3 separate regions of the Homo sapiens genome follow, and all the other regions are linked to region 1. The links are contacts of gene promoters, found by promoter capture Hi-C in human tissues and cell types (Jung and others, 2019). All regions are on one chromosome and are shown on one strand. The core of a region is centred on a gene start or on the middle of the fragment in contact, and the rest is flanking DNA. Distances in the headings are between cores, read along the strand shown. Region 1 holds the start of ITGBL1 (integrin subunit beta like 1). Region 2 overlaps NALCN (sodium leak channel, non-selective). Region 3 overlaps NALCN (sodium leak channel, non-selective).

Region 1 (2,700 bases), core at 191-2,690:
CGCCGCCCTCTTACCTGCACAGGTGCTCCCGTCGTAGGTCTCGCACACCCACTCATGGCACTCACACAGGGGCCCGAAGAACATGCCCGGCTCAGTCACGTGGCAGATGCAGACGCCGCAGTCGCAGCGGCCCCGGCCGTGGCACAGCGCGGCCCCCGGGGGCTGCCCAGGTGCGCGGCAGCGTCGCTCCGACTCGGCCCGGGACAGCCTGCAGGCGGCGCCCGGCCAGCTCCTGCGCGGGCGACAAGCAACCGGCAGGCCGGGTCAGACGCGGACGCCGCCCCCTGCTCCGAACCCACGTTTCCTCCCCAGTGTCCCCTCCAGGTGCAGACGTACAACCCCAAGAACAGGACGCCTGAGGCCCACATCTCTCTGGGGTCCAAGCGCTGCCTGGAAGGGCTGTATTTTCCCAAGCAAACAGGTATCACCCACCAGAGAAATGACCAGGGCCCAAAATGTGTAATGGGTGACCTGCCCCCGGACACAGGTCCTTCCTCCAGGTGGACAGAGGTGAACTGCCCTGCTCTTTGGTAGTTTATCACTAAATCTTATATGCACATTTAGATTAAATACAAAGTAATCCAAGGTACGGCACTCAGCTGACTTTTCAGTTCTCCTTTAAAAAACGTCCCACTGCTATCTGATGGCCAATGGGCACTTATATTACAGAAGAGAAAACGTGAATCTATAGAAAGAGTTAGACATGCTATGATAGCATCGGGCATAATTTGCATTAAGCAGTCTTTAGGAACTCTACTTTTAAAAAGTTTAGTTTCACTATTGCAGTGTGCCTCACTCAGTCTCTTTCAGGATGATACAAAATGTAACACAGACCTCCTGTTGCTGCCCTTGGGAAACAGATCATTCTGCTTTACATGTTGTGAGAAGATACTGGTACACATAGCATTTTAACTCACAGCAGGAATTCCTCCTGATATGTATTTGCAGAAAAGAAAATTATATTTTTATTCAATGATTGCATTTTTCCAAAGGAAAAGCAAAAGGACAGACATGAGGCAATACACGCTGTAGATATAAGGAGAGGAAAAGGAACAGGTTGAAAACAGTTTATCCCTTGTCCAATTTAATAACAGCTCTTGGCTTAGGGCAGCCATCCTGCAAGCTTGAGCCCTGCCACATAAGCAGGGCAGGTCTGTACTGAAGAATAACAAACCAAACTTACCTCAGAGATGGCGAGAAGCTTTGAGGAACAGCTGACAACCCAGCAAAGAGAAGGGAGGACGCCAGCAGCAAGAAGTTCCTGAAGCCTGGGGGACGCATGCTGAGCTCCTGGGCTGCTCCGGGCGAGCTGCACTTCTGCAAGGTGGGGTTCACCGAGGGAGGCGGCAGGAGGGAGAGGTGCCACCAGCAGATGGCTGGGCAGACGGACCCACGGACACCCAGGCTTGCAGGTCCGGGGCTCCAGCCGGAGTTGCAATTGCGTTGATGAGCTGCCTGCGAGGATTTGGGCAGCGGCACTGCTCTGGGCGGGGTGCTGGTGCCAAACCCCTCAGTGGAGAGTCTAGGCAGGGAAGTAATTAGAAACAGTTGTACAAGCAGATGGTTTATTTTGACATTAAAAAAAAAAAAAGTGTCCTGTTCACAGATTTCAAGTACGGGCCACAGAAATATTTGACAAGAGAATATTTGGACTGGCCGATATTAAAGAAACCTTTAAAATAATCCCTGAGTTGTGGAGAAGGGTGAGGCCAGTGACAGTAGTGGGAACACTTGGGTAGGGAATTACTTTCACCACACGCTTTTAAAGTAGATGCACTCTTTGGAGTTTGGGTTGGGGCCGGGGCAAGGAAATCTGACAAACACAACTTTTTCTTGCATTTATTATCCTTTGATTTAAACTGGATATTTCATTTCTTTAGTCTTTAAAAAGCGTGTCATGCTTCCAGCTGTTTAGGCCAGTAGCTTATCACACCACAATTTGTTGGTGACTTGGACAGTTTAAATTGTAGTTGTCTCAAATTCACCCCATTCTCCCCATATATCAAATGTGAGAAAAGAAAATTAAATGTTTATTTATAGCACAAATTGCACTGAAAAACAATTGGTGTCATTTACTAAGCACCTACTATGTGCCAGTCATTTAGTATGTTTTCTCTAATTATGACAATAATCACACATTTATTTATGCATTAGCAAATGGGGATTTAGCATCTATCAGGTGCCAGGTTTTGTGCAAGACAGAATGAATATAACAGAGAACTAAGGAGACATGATCCCTGCTCTCTCAGAGTCCAATGAGCTAGAAAGACATTAATCAACACAAAACCACAAAAAAAAAGAACAAAGGGTTGCAAGTGCAGTGAGAAGTTACTTCCAGATGAGATACAGGCACTTGATCTAATCAAAGATGGTAGCATCTGAACAAAAAACTGAAAAAAGTATTGAATTAAATTGGGTAGAAATAAGAAGGAGATGGAAGAGAACAGGGAGACATTCTTACTCCCATTTTAAAGATAAAGAAACTGAGGGCAAAGAGGTCAACTGACTTGCTCAAATTCACAGAGGAAGTTAGTCGTATTTCAGCTGAAATCCAAAGTGCATACACTATCCCCTACATTTATGGTCATCTGGGAAAATGTGTAGAGGGTTATATGGAAGGGGGAAAACATTTTTCATTCACCCTAAGAAGAGCACTGTACATGCAATCCTTCCTCATGAAATAGAACCATCCAAGAATCA
Region 2 (2,700 bases), core at 149-2,648, 94 kb after region 1:
AAGACAGATATATGCAAAGAAAACCTAAGAAAGAAGGGCAGCTGCCAGATTAAATGTGATGGTTTATGCACATCAGCTGCATAAAGATACCTAATAATTAAGAGAAAAATAATTAACTCTGTAGTGCGACAGTCTGTCAGAGAGCTCTTTAACCAAGTGAATCATAAACATTAACTGCACTAGGACAAATTTTTATGATGTGCTGATGCACACAGAAGGACGCAGCATCACTGCTGTGATATTGCCCCCTCAAAAGTACATTATAGTCTAAATTTAACCATAAAGAGACATCAGTTTTATGCGAAGCTCAAGATACACGTATCTTTCATGTTCTGTAATTTGTAATGTTGATTTTAAGTAGTCTTTAGCACCCTAGGGAGCAAGCATCTCCTAATAATTTTTTTCAGAACTTTCTGGGTAATAAATGCCATCCTGTTAAATAAGTATTTTCTACTTTTTTTCCTGCTTTGTATCCATTTATTCACTTGTTTGCTTTTTAAAAAATTTTTACTTTAAGTTGTGGGATACATGGGCAGAATGTGCAGGTTTGCTACCTAGGTATACATGTGCCATGGTGGTTTGCTGCACCTGTCAACCCATCATCTATGTTTTCAGCCCCGCATGCATTAGCTATTTGTCCTAATGCTCTCCCTCCCCCTGCCCCTCACCCCGCGACAGACCCCAGTATGTGTTGTATGTTCTCATTGTTCAACTCCCACTTATGAGTGAGAACATGCGCTGTTTGGTTTTCTGATCCTGTGTTACGTTTGCTGAAGGTGATGGCTTCCAGCTTCATCCATGTCCCTGCAAAGGATATGATCTCATTTCTTTTTATGGCTGCATAGTATTCCATGGTGTATATGTCCCACATTTTCTTAGTCCAGTCTATCCTTGATGGGTATTTGGGTGGTTCCGTGTCTTTGCTATTGTAAATAGTGTTGCAAGAAACATACGTGTACATGTATCTTTATAGTAGAATGATGTCTATTCTTTTGGGTGTATACCCAGTAATGGGATTGCTGTGTCAAATTTTATTTCTGGTTCTAGATCCTTGATGAATCATCACATTGTCTTCCACAGTGGTTGAACTAATTTACATTCCTACCAACAGTGTAAAAGCGTTCCTATTTCTCCACATCCTCGCCAGCATTTATTGTTTCTTGACTTTTTAATAATCGCCGTTCTGACTGGTGTGAAATGGTACTGCATTGTGGTTTTGGTTTGCATTTCCCTAGTGATCAGTGGTGTTGAGCTTTTTTTCATGTTTTTTGGCTGCATAAATATCTTCTTTTGAGAAGAGTCTGTTCATATCCTTTGTTCACTTTTTGATGGGGTTGTTTCTTTTTTTCTTGCAAATTTGTTTACATTTCTTATAGGTTGTGGATATTAGACCTTTGTCAGATGGGTAGATTGCAAAAATTTTCTCCTATTCTATTCTGTAGGTTGCCTGTTCACTCTGATGATAGTTTCTTTTGCTGTGCATAAGCTCTTTAGTACTTCTAGTTTAATTAGATCCCATTTGTCTGTTTTGGCTTTTCTTGCCATTGCTTTTAGCATTTTCATCATGAAATCACTGTCCATGTCTATGTCCTGAATAGTATTGCCTAAGTTTTCTTCTAGGGTTTTTATGGTTATGGGTTTAACATTTAAGTCTTTAATCCATCTCGATTTAATTTTTGTCTAAGGTATAAGGGGTCCAGTTTTAGTTTTCTGCACATGGCTAGCAAGTTTTCTCAGCACCATTTATTAAATAGGGAATCCTTTCCCCACTGCTTGTTTTTGTCAGGTTTGTCAAAGATCAGATGGTTGTAGATGCGTGATGTGATTTCTGAGGTCTCTGTTCTGTTCCATTGGTCTATATGGCTGTTTTGGTACCAGTGCCATGCTGTTTTGGTTACTCTAGCCTTGTAGTATAGTTTGAAGTCAGGTAGCATGATGCCTCCAGCTTTGTTCTTTTTCCTAAGGATTGTCTTGGTTATACAGGCTCTTTTTTGGTTCCATATGAAATTTAGGGTAGTTTTTTTCTAATTCTGTGAAGAATGTCAATGGTAGTTTGATGGGAATAGCATTGAATCTATAATTTATTTTGGGCAGTATGGCCATTTTCATGATATTGATTCTTCCTATCCATGAGGATGGAATGTTTTTCCATTTGTTTGTGTCGTCTCTTATTTCCTTGAGCAGTGATTTGTAGTTCTCCTTGAAGAGGTCCTTCACGTCCTTTGTAAGTTGTATTCCTAAGTATTTTATTCTCTTTGTAGCAATTGTGAATGGGAGTTCATTCATGATTTGGCTCTCTGCTTGTGTATTTTTGGTGTATAGGAATACTTGTGATTTTTGCACATCCATTTTGTATCCTGAGATTTGCTGAAGTTGCTTATCAGGTTAAGGAGTTTTCGGGCTGAGATGATGGGGTTTTCTAACTATAGAATCACGACATCTGGAAACAGAAAATTTCACTTCCTCTCTTCCTATTTAAATACCCTTTATTTCTTTCTCTTGACTGATTGCTCTGGCCAGAACATCCAATACTATGTTGAATAGGAGTGGTGAGAGAGGGCATCCTTGTCTTGTGCCAGTTTTCAAAAAGAATGCTTCCAGCTTTTTCCCATTCAGTATGATACTGGCTGTGGGTTTGTCACAAATAGCACTTATTATTTTGAGATATGTTCCATCAATACCTAGTTTATTGAAAGCTTT
Region 3 (2,700 bases), core at 174-2,673, 110 kb after region 1:
AACAAAAATTTATTTCAAAGATGAGTCATAATTGAAAGAATGAGGACCACATCTATAAAAATGTACTTTGAGGTACTTTTAAAACTGAAAAAAAATCATGATATATAACTCATAAAAGCTTAGTAGGAAACAGAGCACTGAATTACAGATTCGAAGGATGCAGCTTTTCTCAGTAAGTGAACATAGAACAGTCAACACTGAGACACATCTTAGTAAAATTGTTGGAAATCAAAGCTAAAGAAAACATTCATTAGGCATCCAGAAAAAATAAGGTCAAGTTAGCTATAAGGAGGTACATCAGAGAGGCCTGAAACTTCATGTCAATATGGAACTCTAGAATGTAATGGCACAATGCTTACAAATTCTTTAGGGAAAGAATGGGTCAAGCTCTTTCTGAATATTTTTGAAGAGGCAGGAACATAGAGACTATATTTTGCATGAAATCTTCTTGAAAACATTCAGTCAATCAAGAATTTCTTATCATGAGCTAGTCTCTAGTATCTATTTGTTTTAAGAACAAAGCTAATGTAACTGTAGGATTTACAAAATACAATGTAAATATTATAAATTATGAATATCTAGAAGAGATAAGATGAAAACCGGGGGAGATAGTGTGATTATGTTGATATTCTTAACATTCACATTTTAGCAGTTAAAAAAGTAACATTTATACAATATATGAAATGTATAATAGAGATATGTGCATACTTGTCATGAGATGAGAATGCATGATAAACTCAGAAATTACTTTCTTTAGAAATAACTCAAAAATCCAAATAATATTATCTATGACCACGTCCCAAAAAATCATTTCAATATGAGTAATAATATTGGAATCAATTCTTTCTAAATCTTGATAATAGTTCTCAAAAGAAAAGTAACAAACAGTATATTTTTTAACCTCTGAATAGAGTTATGCTATTTGCTGTAGCATGTTTAAAATTATTAGGGGCACATGACTCCTTTGTGGTAAAGTTTGCTTGAAGCACAGTTGTTCAAAAGAATGGCCCTGGGGTTTAGATCATGACTCCACTTTATATTAGTGTGACAGCCTTAGGAAAGTAATTAACTCTCTTGCCTCAATTTCCCCATCTAGGAAATGGGGTAAGTGATAGACCTACCTTATACAGTTAATGTAAAGAGCAACTGAGAAACTACACTTAGAGTACGTGTAGCGTAGAACAAACGCAGAATGAACTAGAAATTGGGATGCACGGGCAAAATATGAATGTATCTCTGTGTTATTTGAGGGAAAATGGTGTAATAATAAGGGAGGGCAGGACATAGATATTTTCACACTCACACACTGCATCTGATATGATTCCCTTTGTTTACAGACATTAACTATGCAGGTTTTCCAGTATCTTATTCAAGGGAGAGGCATTGGGGCAGGGGCACGGTGTTTTTTGTTTGTTTGTTTGTTTGAGATGGAGTCTCGGTCTGTCGCCCAAGCTGGAGTGCAGTGGCACAATTTTGGCTCACTGCAAACTTTGCCTCCTGGGTTCAAGCAATTCTCCTGCCTCTGCCTCCCAGTTAGCTGGGACTACAGGCGCCCATCACCATGCCTGGCTAATTTTTTTGTATTTTTAGTAGAGACGGAGTTTCACCGTGTTAGCCAGGAGGGTCTCGATCTCCTGACCTCGTGATCCACCCGCCTCGGCCTCCAAAAGTGCTGGGATTACAGGCGTGAGCCACTGTACCCGCCGGGGCACGGTGTTCTTAACCTTGCATCTTGCCTATGTTAACTCATATCTCCCATTTCATTTTATTCCAATCAATGACTAGCATTCTAGAAGGCAAGTTTTTGGTGATGTTTGGTCTTTATTCATCAATTATTCCCCTCCCCTCTCACAAATGTCCTGACTTCTGTGCTTGTACCAATCTCTCTAGAATCTGATCAACATTTAGCCCGTGTCATTGAATTTTCTAGTTTGATGAAGCATCATGCATATGTTTAATTTTATTTATTTATCCATATACATTCGAATCTGTGACCCCTGGATTGGAGCCTCTCCCTTTCAGCGCCTTTCAACAGGTGCTCCTTCCACAGAGCCTAAGTAAAGCACCAGCTGGGGCATTGAGCAGAAGGCACAGCCATGCTGTGATGTGCAGGGGCTCCAGCACTAAGTGATTTATTTTCCGACCTCCTCTAATTCCCTGAGCCACGTGACAACTGAGATACTAGTTATTTCTGTCTCTTTCTTCCATTTATGCACCTTTCCATCTTTATTTCTGGATAGCTTTCCTGTGGCTCCTTCCTAAGGACCCCCAACTGACTCATCCCTGCTAAGACATTAGCCCGTGCACTCAAGATATCACACACTCCCCATGTTGCAAGCTTCCTGAGTAGTAGACATAATCTAAAGGACATCTTGCAAAATCGCAAAATTTATTTAGCAGACATTGAGATTCCGTGATTGCAGTATGGGTGGCAAGGTGGGTAGGAATCATACAGTGGTAAGGTTTGGGGATTGACAACATCCTAAAAGCCACACTGTCGAAGTGACACAAAATCACAGCAACTTACCCTATTTAGAAAATGTGTCTTCCCTTTTCTGAATACTTACCCCACTTTCAGTTCCTACTTCCGCTGTTCCCACTTGCTCATAAACATATGAGACATAAAAGCTGAGACATAAAAGAGGCGACACTGTGATTTTCTGTAATAACACTGGAAATGAAATTACAGAAGTTTAGAGC

Evidence for each region. Contacts are between HindIII fragments. The study calls those that stand out against the background at their distance.
Region 2: a fragment that was not itself captured here is called in contact with the fragment with the promoter of ITGBL1 in region 1 in 2 of the 25 tissues and cell types used here (hippocampus and pancreas).
Region 3: a fragment that was not itself captured here is called in contact with the fragment with the promoter of ITGBL1 in region 1 in 3 of the 25 tissues and cell types used here (H1 embryonic stem cells, dorsolateral prefrontal cortex and hippocampus).

What each region holds. Positions count from the first base shown.
Region 1 is chr13:101,451,415-101,454,114 of GRCh38, reverse strand. ITGBL1 (integrin subunit beta like 1) reads right to left here and starts at 1,440. Exons shown (of 11, transcript NM_004791.3): 1 at 1,184-1,440; 2 at 15-232. The coding sequence starts at 1,281. RefSeq lists an enhancer at 1,358-1,862. The HindIII fragment of the contact is 7,410 bases long and covers 1-2,700 here.
Region 2 is chr13:101,356,999-101,359,698 of GRCh38, reverse strand. The region is part of intron 6 of NALCN (sodium leak channel, non-selective); the gene reads left to right. Among named protein-coding and RNA genes, the nearest start is that of NALCN, 58 kb to the left of the region's middle. The HindIII fragment of the contact is 6,642 bases long and covers 1-2,700 here.
Region 3 is chr13:101,338,992-101,341,691 of GRCh38, reverse strand. The region is part of intron 7 of NALCN (sodium leak channel, non-selective); the gene reads left to right. Among named protein-coding and RNA genes, the nearest start is that of NALCN, 76 kb to the left of the region's middle. The HindIII fragment of the contact is 5,110 bases long and covers 1-2,700 here.